2 separate regions of the Homo sapiens genome follow, and region 1 is linked to region 2. The links are contacts of gene promoters, found by promoter capture Hi-C in blood cells and fetal thymus (Javierre and others, 2016). All regions are on one chromosome and are shown on one strand. The core of a region is centred on a gene start or on the middle of the fragment in contact, and the rest is flanking DNA. Distances in the headings are between cores, read along the strand shown.

Evidence for each region. The method cuts DNA at HindIII sites, captures the fragments that hold promoters and counts their contacts. A CHiCAGO score of 5 or more calls a contact.
Region 1: a contact is called between a fragment that was not itself captured here and the fragment with the promoter of PAG1 in region 2, in 1 of 17 cell types (total B cells). The highest score is 5.4, in total B cells.

The regions. Positions count from the first base shown.
Region 1 is chr8:80,090,245-80,095,769 of GRCh38, reverse strand. The region is part of intron 1 of TPD52-MRPS28 (TPD52-MRPS28 readthrough); the gene reads left to right. All of the region lies in intron 1 of TPD52 (tumor protein D52), which reads left to right. LOC105375918 (a long non-coding RNA gene) reads right to left here. Exons shown (of 3, transcript XR_007060978.1): 3 at 3,546-4,064. Among named protein-coding and RNA genes, the nearest start is that of MRPS28, 63 kb to the right of the region's middle. The HindIII fragment of the contact is 2,027 bases long and covers 1,832-3,858 here.
Region 2 is chr8:81,108,922-81,114,169 of GRCh38, reverse strand. It overlaps PAG1 (phosphoprotein membrane anchor with glycosphingolipid microdomains 1), which reads left to right and starts at 2,102. Exons shown (of 9, transcript NM_018440.4): 1 at 2,102-2,579. RefSeq lists a silencer at 1,967-2,096 and an enhancer at 2,587-2,656. The HindIII fragment of the contact is 5,316 bases long and covers 1-4,483 here.

The DNA.
Region 1 (5,525 bases), core at 1,596-4,095, 1.0 Mb after region 2:
GTTTCACCATGTTGGCCAGGATGGTCTCGATCTTTTGACCTCATGATCCTCCCACCTTGGCCTCCCAAGTGCTTGGATTACAGGCATGAGCCACCGCACCCGGCCTAGTCTTTGTATTTTAGGGCAGTTTTGGGTTTACAGAAAATTGAACAAGTAGTGCAGAGTTCCTTCACGCCCCTAGTTTCCCTTATTATTAACACCTTAAATTCATATGGTACATTTGTTACATTTGGTTAATGCTGAGACATTATTATTAACTAAAGTCTGTAGTTTTTATTAGTGTTGTCCAGTTCAATGGATTTTGACAGATGCATAATATGTAGCCACCATTGCAGTATCATACAGAATACTTTCACTGCCCTAAAAATCACCAGCACCCCAACCTAGTCATTCCTGCTTGCCTCCCCCTCAGCCCTTGGTAACCATTGATCTTTTTACTGTCTCCATAATTTTGTCTTTTCCAGAATGTCACATAGTTGAGATCTTACAGTATTTTGGCTTTTCAGATTGGCTTTTGTCAATAATATGCATTTAAAGTTTCTTTGTGTTTTTTCACAGCTTGCTAGTTCATTTCTTTTTAGTGCTGAATAATATTCCACTGTCTGGATGTACCACAGTTTATTATCCATTCACCTACTGAATGACATCTTGGTGGTTTCTTGTTTTTGGTGATCATGAATAAAGCCACTATGACCATTCACTACAGGGTTTTGTGTGGTCATAAGTTTTCAGCTCATTTGGGTAAATACCTGGGAGTGCAATTGAAGGATCTGTGATATATTCTTGGTCCCAGCATCTCTCCTCCTGCTGACAATTACCCTCCTTATTGTGACAACCTAACCAGGCCTGCCTCTCCCAGGGCTTCCTCTTCTTCACTTAGAGCATTTTCTGAACAAGTCTGGACACAAAGGTCTTGCTTATATTTTCAGGAAAGAGTATTTAAAATACTTCTTAATCATGGTTCCAACTTATTTCAACTCTTATAATTAAGTGATCATTTTTTTTTTAAATTATGGTAGAATATGTGTATATAAGATATAATTTGTGATTTTAACCATTTTTAAGTATACAGTTCAGTTGTATTCATCATATTCACATCATTGTGTAACCATCACCACTATCTGTTTCCAAAACTCTTACCTGGGGATATGATCATTTTAAAAGAGGAATTTGAAGAAATACATCTGAAGCTATATTTGGCAATATGTTTCCATCAGTAACTCCCAAAATCTCAGTGGCTATTGGCAACAATCTTTATGTCTCCCTCATGTTATATATACATACATATATATATATATATATATATATATATATATATATATATATATATATATATATAAAATTTTCTTTTGTCTAGAACTTAGTCACATGGCCACATCTAACTGCAAAGGAGCCTGGGAGGTGTAGTCTAGCTACCTGCGTAAGAATAAGAACAAATTGGCTTGGCGATTTGTTAGCATTCCTGGCCATATTAAGTAAGATTATTAAATCATACACATTGTTAACTTGATCTTTCAGAGATGACATGACAGTAATTGTATGGTTTCATAGATCTGGCTGTGTTTCAGGAGAGCATTTTTCCATCCCATGCTCTCTTTCCATCTAAACGTTAATTATCTTATCCTTTTAACACTGAGAGAGCTTCCTGGAATAAATAAAATTATATGCCTATTTTGATAAATACCTGTTTGATAGCGATGTTTTATAAAACTCTGAGAAAAGTCAACAAGGAGCCTTCACAGTGATTAATACAGCAGTTATTATGGTCAGATGTTAAAAAAAATCTCATGTCTTCAGTCTTGTGCCAAAAGGCAAAGAAAGTTTTGAAGCTTTCCACACACTGATTTGGTTTCAAGATAATGGGCTACTATTGAGTTTACATGTAGCATTGGTCTTCTGCTATTGTCTTTATAAAGGAAAGTATGTGAAATTTGGAATTGGAAATGTCATTTCTTAACCAGAGTAGCAGGTTCAGATGGTGAAGCTATCACTTTTGGCACAGGACTCTTGTTTCTTAATAAAATTTAATGAAAAATTGACAAGATTTGTGCAGTGTATATTTTTTTTAATGGTTGACCCACTGAATGCATCTAATTAGCTTATTACAGTTTAAAAGCAAGTTTAACTGCCTAAATGTATGACTTGGTATTTTGATCTTGTTTGTTAGGTCTCAGCTTGCTGATGATAGAAGTTTGTGGTCCAATATTAATTTTAAATAAGTGCCTACTGTTCTCTAGAAACTCCCATTCCCTTAAGGAAAAGTGTTTCATATGAGCCTCTCATTGCCAGGAATAGCTGTGTAAGCATTGTGGAAGTTTTTTCCACATTAAAATGTAGTCCACCAGTTCATTTATTCCTTTTAGGGTTGTGACAGTCGCTTGTGTTTATGCACCCCTGTAGAGCTGTCTTTAAACTCATTCAGCAAATTGGAAACATTTAGCTTGGATGACACCTCTTTAATCTTCCAGTAATCTCACCATAGAGACCACTGTACTCTCAAATACATTGTTAATACTTTTAGTAAGAATGGCCTGCTTTCATTCTCTTATTACTGAGCCATTATTCTGGACTCTGTTTATTATTATTATTATTATTCCAGAGTCGAAATAATTATCCCGTTGAAAAGACCAAGCATGTGCACACCCTGTTGTGACACAGCCGGTTTTGTCCTATCTGAACTTGCCTGCTTTGTGAACTGTTAGGGTCTCAGAAAAACAAAAAACAAAATCTTTTATTTTTAACATTTAATTTTTTATAGTTTTTATATTTTTTAATTGAGACAAAATATATGTATATAATTTACCATCTGTACCATTTGAAATGTACACTTCCTTGGTAATAAATATATTCTTTATTCCCCCTTCCACCTTTATTCCATCCTTTATTCCTACCCCCACCCCTGCTCAACTCCTCCTCTTCCCAGCCTCTGGCAGTAATTTAAAGTGTGAGTGACAATCTCACCTCTTATAATTATGTGATCTTTTTTTTTTTTTAAATTGTGGTAGAATGTGTATAACACGGAATTTGTGATTTTACTCTCTCTTCACGAGATCTACAGTTTTTAGCTCCACTTGAGTGAGAACGTGTGACAGTTGTATTTCTGTTCCTAGCTTATTTCACTTAACATAATGACCTCTAGTTCCACCCATGTTGCTGCAAATGACAAGATTCATTTTTTTATGGCCAAGTAGTAATAAATTGTGTATATATACCACAATTTTCTTTATTCAACTATTAATGAATATAGGTTGATTCCATATCATTGCTATTGTGAATAGTGCTTCAATAAACGCGCACGTGCAAATATCCTTGACATCTGATTTCTTTACATTTGGGCAAATACCCAGTAGTAGGATTGCTGGATCTATTAATATGTTAATTCTGTTTTTAATTGTTTTGAGAAATCTCCATACTGTTTTTCACAGTGGCTGTGCTGGGAAGATGTGTCAGTGGGTGGGGGGAGGATAAAACGAGGTTAGTTAATGGTTACAAACATACCTTAGAAGGAATAAGTTCTAATGTTCGATAGCAGTGTAGGATGACCATAGTTAACAACAATGTATTGTAGATTTCAAAATAGCTAGAAAAGAGGACTTGGAATAATGCCAACACACAGAAATGACGAATACTCGAGGTGATAGATGCCCCAAACCCCTAATTTGATCATTACACAGTGTAAGCATGTGATAGAGTATCATATTTGTGCCCCCATATACATGTACACATATTTGTATCAATAAGAAATATATACAAAAAGCCAAACCTTTTTAGCTATAAAATCTGTCTCTTATGTTCAAATGTATATAGTTAGAAAGTGCTGGAGTCCTGTAACATCAGTATTCAGAGTTTACTCAAGCTTTCATCCTCAGGCAAACTTAGCAGCTGTTATCTAAAGCCAGACTTGCAGCATCAGAAATCACCTGGAGCTTGTCCAGAAAGCAAGAGTCTTGGGCTCCACCCCAGACTTTCTAACTCAGAATCTGTAGTTCCACAGGCTCCCCTGGTGGCTCTGGTATGTAATAAAGTTATTTGAGAAGCACTGGCTGGAGATCTTTTACCTGAGCCTGTAATCATGGAATCACCCATCAGTATGTGGAGTGACCATAACATTTCAACTCAAACTCTATTTCTAAAATGAAAAAATCTGTCTATTGTATCTAATTAAGTATATGACAAATATCAAGCTCTCTTTCCACTATTTTCTGGTGTTCTCATGATCTGACAATGACAGTGGCAGGACCATGTACTGAGATGACCGAAGTGAAAATAGTAATGCTCTTTTGTGTATTTTTTTTTTTTTTTTTTGAGATGGAGTCTCTGTCGCCCAGGCTGGAGCGCAGTGGCGCGATCTCGGCTCACTGCAAGCTCCGCCTCTTGGGTTCAGGCCATTCTCCTGCCTCAGCCTCCCAAGTAGCTGGGACTACAGGTGCCCGCCACCACGCCCAGCTAATTTTTTTGTAATTTTAGTAGAGACGGGGTTTCACCGTGTTAGCCAAGATGGTCTTGATCTCCTGACCTTGTGATGCCCGCCTCAGCCTCCCAAAGTGCTGGGATTACAGGTGTGAGCCACTGCGCCCAGCCTCTTTTGTGTATTTTAGAATCCAGTCTGTGACTCCTTGTGATAGAGAATTCAGGCATTCTTGAGACTTCTCAACAGATTCTGACTTTCCCAGGTACAGGCTTATCCAGACGACATGTTTGGAGATAGGTTGAGAGAGGGAATGACATCTTATGCTTATTATATGTCACTCTTGCTCTTCAGTATTTGAAGGAAACACTGTGTGAAGAACAAAAACCTTCTGTCCTGGCTGCTGACATTAACTCAATTTTAGTTATTTTGAGAGGGCAGAAGAATATTCTAAGTAGACTGTTAGGGGTTCCTAACAAGTGAGAATTTCTTTGCAAGTCAGTGGGCCAAATAAACGATTTCTTTAAAAATACAAATCCATTTTATCACTTAAGAGTATTTACATTTAGTTCCAAATAATTTGCATATGCCTGCTAGGTTATGCCTTTTTATTCTAGAGAAGAGGCTCCAAAGAGGATAGTTTTTTTTTTTTTCTTTCTTATAATACTGTGCTATAATAGTCTTTTTTCCCCCATTGGGATGGAAAATAAAGGAGAAAAGAAGTGGCATTCCCATAGGGAATATTTCCTAAGTTTCTAATGCAAAGTTTCTAATCTGAAAACTGCCACATATTTTTAAAAGAATGCCAACATGATTTAATCTAGTTTCATTCAGTTTAGGAACTGAAATGCCCCTGGGTGAGGGACAGCATCCCTGAACCTTCCTTGGCCCCTGGTCTGCCCCGCCCCTCCCCATCCCCACTGTGCTTCCTCTTCTGCATTGTCTTCTTTGCTCTTAAACACACACATTTGAAAACTTTATTTATTTGTTTTTTAAAGAGGTGGCACCATCGTAGCTCACTCTAGCCTTGAACTCCTGGGCTGAAGTGATCCCTTCTGACCCAGCCTCCTGAGTAACTGGAACTACAGGTGTGCACCACTGTGCCTGGCTAATTTTT
Region 2 (5,248 bases), core at 853-3,352:
CAGACCGAGAGTATAGCCCATAGCATCTACCACAAGCACAAGAATTGATCCTGACACTTTTGGTTCTCTATCTAGGAGTGGCTTTGAAATACATTTGAGTTCCAATTTACTGATGGCAAATCCTGATATGAAAAATTTGGAAATGAAAAACAATCCTCAGCATGTTACTTGGTGAAAAGAGAGCAGAGGAAAAGGACAGAGGCTAGAGATTGGCTCCTGCCTGCATTCGTGAATTTGTCTAAATCACTTAGCTTCTGAGCCTGGGTAAAATGAGGATGGTAATTACACTTGTCACCAGATAACGTGAATATTGCCCTTCAAACTCCTCAATGAAGCCTGCACTGTGGAACTGCAATGTCCTAGGACCGGGTTGCTCTTAGAACATTTTGTTCTAAGTGTATCCTAACAAGTGTAGCAAAACTGGAAGACACAAAATGTATTTCCTCCCCACAAGAATGAAAGCCTTCCTAACTCCAAATTTAGGCACAGCCTGTAAAAGATGTGACTAGTAAACACAGAAACCATTTGCTTTATAAGGTCTAAATTGTCCTCTTCTCCAGAGTTGTAGAAGCCAAGTCCAACACGGAGATCCCTACTTTTATTCAAGTTCCACCATTAGTCAACTCATGTCCAGGATGTCTTCTTTAATATATAAAATGGGGATACTTTTTTATATTATTATTCAACTTAAGAGACCACTGTGAAATTTCAGTGAGGTAACGTATGTGAAATGTTATACTCCATAAGTTCTTAAACACCTGAGTTTCATACCATGCTCTGAAGCAAGAGGCCAAGTCTGGTTCCTGGGTCCGCTTCCCCAATGGGCTTTTCCAAGCTGTAGGCTGAGTCTAAACTGTTTCCTCCCACATACCCTTCCCTCTGCGACACACTAACAACATCCCTTACTCCATCACTGTCTTCCTTACCCTCTCCTGATGAGCCTTCTTCCCCAGCCACCTTTAAGCTCCCATTAATGATATGTGTAACGAGTGTTCAATAGAGTGTGTGTGTGTATATTTAATGCCATTTATATGTTTTTTCTTGCTAAGTAATGCATCATAATTTTAGAAAATTGGGACTAGTCAGATAAAGCACCCGTTGGTTTAGAATCCCTGACTCAAAGTCAGATGTCCTGAGTTCTAGACTTGGTTTGTCTCCTTGTAAGTGCAAAAGTTTATTCCCAATTCCAGGTTGCTAGTGTAAACTTGAAGTTTGGCCCAAACAAAACCCCTATCAGATTTATTTAGAGTGTTGATGCCAAATGGAATTCTAGAAGCCCACCTTTGCCAGGGGCTGAGCCAGAACCACTATCACTGGGGGTACGGCCTGGGCATTTGTTCTGCGTTTTTTATAAGCCCCTCGGGTGACTGTCAGACAGGCCAACTGTTTCAGAAGCTCTGCTCCAGGCTCTAGATCACACGTTAAGTAGCAAGGATGGGGGTCTGGACCTCCAGTATTGGCATCCTCCGAGAGCTTGTTAGAAAGGATGTCTCCCTCATTATCCCAGGCCTACTGAATCTGAATCTTGCATCTCATCACAATCCGCAGGAGATTCTGTCACACACTGAGGGTTTGAGAAGCACTGCTGTACCTTGGTATCTTTAGATACCTACTGATACCTGGGTGGGCCCCACCCAGACATTGTCCTGTACTTGTTCTGGGATGCGTCCGGGGCAAAGGGTTCTTACAAGCTCCCCAAGTTATTTTAATGCACAGCCACAATAGAAGATCACTGTCCCCCAAATGGCAACCCTTTACGGTTAAGCTGTAACCTGAATTAAATTGGCTTTTGTGGGCTCCCCAGGGACCTTAAGGACCGCTTAAACGGTGCTGTTTAAAGGACAATGGGCTCCTGGGACAAGTTCAACCACAGAGCTTTGGGTTCATAAAATCAGGGCAGGGAAGACTTCCTGCATCCTCCCGCGAGCAAGCCAGGCCCCGCGCCGGTCCTCACCCGTGTGCACCCCCAGCCCGGCCCCGCCCGGCTCGCCCCCTCCCGCCCCGCGGCCCGCCCCTCCTCCCCCGTGACGTGCCGCTGCGGCCAGGATCATGCGCACTCGCGCCCCGCTCCCCGCGCGGCTGCTCCGCCTCGGCGCCTGTCATTCTCCGCGGCGCGGCGGCGAGTGCTGGCTGCGGTACCCTCCCGCTCGCTTGTCCGTCTGCGCGCCCGCGATGTGACCAGCCGACTGGGGGCGGGCTGGCGGCTCTGCCTGCGGCAGCGCATCGGTTTTTCTCCTGGCAGGTCCCTAATTGAGCCGTGATTCCCTTGGAGCCAGAGACACCCACCAGGGGCTCGGAGCGCCGCGCTCCGGGGCTGGAGGCAGCTGCAGCGCTCGGGTCCGCGCGGCCGGGTGCAGTAGCCTCAGTCCCAGCCGCCGCCTCGCTGAGTCGTGTGCCCTGGCGAATGCCCGGCGCCCGGCACAGCTGAGCCAAGGCGACTGGTGCAGAGCGGCGGCGCCTGGTCCTGCACTTGCCGCTGCTGCCGGGCTGTGCCGGGGCGGCGGCGCTGCGCGCCGGAGTTTGCAGAGGCTGCCTCCGAGCGCCGTCCGCCAGGAAGACTCCCTGCCTCCTGAGTCCCAGTAAGTTGACTGTAGTTTCTGAAGTTGGAGGGAGCCGTGGGAAGGAGAGGTTCGTTTTTATCTTCTTGTGGGAAGCCGAGGGTGGCACCTCTTGTTAACAGAGTTCCAGCTCGAGGAGGGAGTGCGGGGTGCCAAGAAGGGGACAAGGCAGCTGGAAGGTCTGGAGTCCAGGGCTGGCTGACCTCAGCATCTCACGAATGTGCCAGTTGGAAATATGCTGGGAGAGGACAGGTACTCCTAGGGCATTTCGACTGCTGCGTGCTAATTATTCATTCCAAGCTCCTTGACTCTGTGTTTACGTTGGGGTGAAGGGGCTGGGCAGGGTCTTGTCACCTCCATCCTAATTCCTCTGGGGAGTGTGGCCAGCACTGCGATGGATCTTTGGGCGAGCCATTTCTTTCAGGCCTGCAGGCTTCCCGCGCATCCCGCTTTACTCTTCCCCTAGGCAGAAGTTGCCAACCTTTTCATAATTGGAGCCTAGTCCTTTAGGGAAAAAACAACTTATATGTCGACCCGGTGTTTTATGCCCTAAGGCAAATAAAACGAGCTCTGGGCGTGTGAATTCATACACTTTAAGAATGTAGGCAAGTCTCAAGAAATAGGATTCAGATAATGACACTTGGATTTCACCCTGATTGTCCTGCACCTCTTATGTAAGCCTCCCGGCTGGATAACTTTATCTCTGCAGTGGCTGCAGCTGTGGCCCTCCATTCCATTTGTTTAAAGTCCAATTGAACAGTATTTACTGAAAATGCTGACATGATATAGCGGCCTGAAGTCTGAAACAGAGTGCACTCTTCAAATTGGAGTGTCTTCTCCTAATAGGGAGCATGGGAGGAACAACCCACTATATTTTTCAAGGCAGCTCCAGGAATTAGACCCATAAATCATGTTTTAAAATAGCATGCATTGTGCAGAGAGCATGCAGAGGACCGCTTTTTGAACACATCCCCTTTGTTTTAGAAAAAGTGGAAATTGTTCATGCCAGACAATTGTTGAGTCTAAAAGTTAAGTGTACTGATGGGCCTAATTATCTTAATAAACAAAGAGCATGATTTATAGGTAGCTGCAGTGCCCTACTTTGAAGGATAGAAATCTTTAACCTTTCTTTCTCAGCTGTTCCCGAGAGATTCCTTTTAAGCAGAGCTATGGATTATCATCATTGATGTTTAATACCTGAGTTGGTTAAACTTGTAAAAGGAATAGTACTTTGAAGTACCATGCAGTACTGCTGTGTGACTGTTACACAGCGAATATTATAAATAAGAGGAATATTTGGAGTATTGGGTATAGATGTCATTAGTTTAACAAAATAGGTCATATTAAGACTTTCCTGCTAAATATATATACACATACATAAATGTTTAATTTGGACTTGAAATTATTGTTTAAACCAAAGCTCAGGGGTATGTTTTAATGTAAGATTTATTTACATAATCTTTGAAGAGAGAAGTGCATTTATTTATGGTATTTCAGCATGCAGAACAAGATGAACTAGTTATAGGCACCTTATTTAAAGTGTAAAGGGTTTTTTTTTAGGAATACTAAGAAAATACACAAAATGTTATTTCAGAAGTTGAAAAGTTAGTCACATCAACACATTGCGGTTTGTGAGAGCATCCAGTGCTTATCTCTAGAAGAGATTACATCCAAGCATGGAATCTCAAACAGATTGACCCATTAAGCCCTATTGCAGCCTGGTTAGGAGGACAGGCTATGGAGCCAGGCTGCCAGCTCTGGTACCATCTGTTTGAATCTAGGCAAGTAACCCAAAGTCTGTGCCTCAGTGTCTTCATCTGTACAATGGGGATGACAGTAGTAGTACCTACCCCACTGAACAGTAGTGAGAATTAAATGAGTTCATAGACATAGAGCTGTTGGGCCAGTATCTGGCATATTAAGCTTGTTCTGGGAAAAATTTTCATTGTTATGAAAGGAAATGCATCTTTGGACTCTATGGACATTGAATTGCTGCTATGGACATTGAATTGCTGCTGATGAATATTAACAGAAGCAGTTCATGTGTATAATAGGAGAGAAGGTATAAACATTTATTGTGCACTGTCTAGCGATACAGACACCAACTGGTATTTAACACTGTCTTGCTCAATTCCCCACCACAGTCCTTTGAGGTAAGTGGCTTCATCTCTACTTTAGAGATGAGAAAATGGGAGCTCAGTGAGATCAAATAGTAGAAATTGGAGCTGGCATTTAACCCACGTCTGTCTGTGTTGAAACTGTGTTCTTTTTGACCCTGCTGCCTCAACTTGCAAATGAAGTAGTTGCATTATTATCCTCAATTTATACATGAAGAAATCTAAGCTTAAGGATTAAAGTATGCAAAGTGCTTAACAGCACCCACAACAGAAATGATCATAATTATTGTTAAATAACTTGCCCATGCTTCCATACCTCCTAATGTGTGGTAGAGGTGCCAGGTCTTTCAATTTGAAGTGGATTCTGTTGCTTTATTATTTTTCTATTCATGCATTCAGAGAGTCAAAAAAGAAAAATTGGTGTGATGTTAGAGTTTACACTGGAGGGTGGTGGTCTCCATTTGGTTTCCTGCCTGCACGTGTAGCTGCAGCAATCTACACAGTCAAGGAAACCACCACGGCAGCAGTAATCAATCCACAAACAGCGTCATCCCTGGATATGCATTCAGTCCC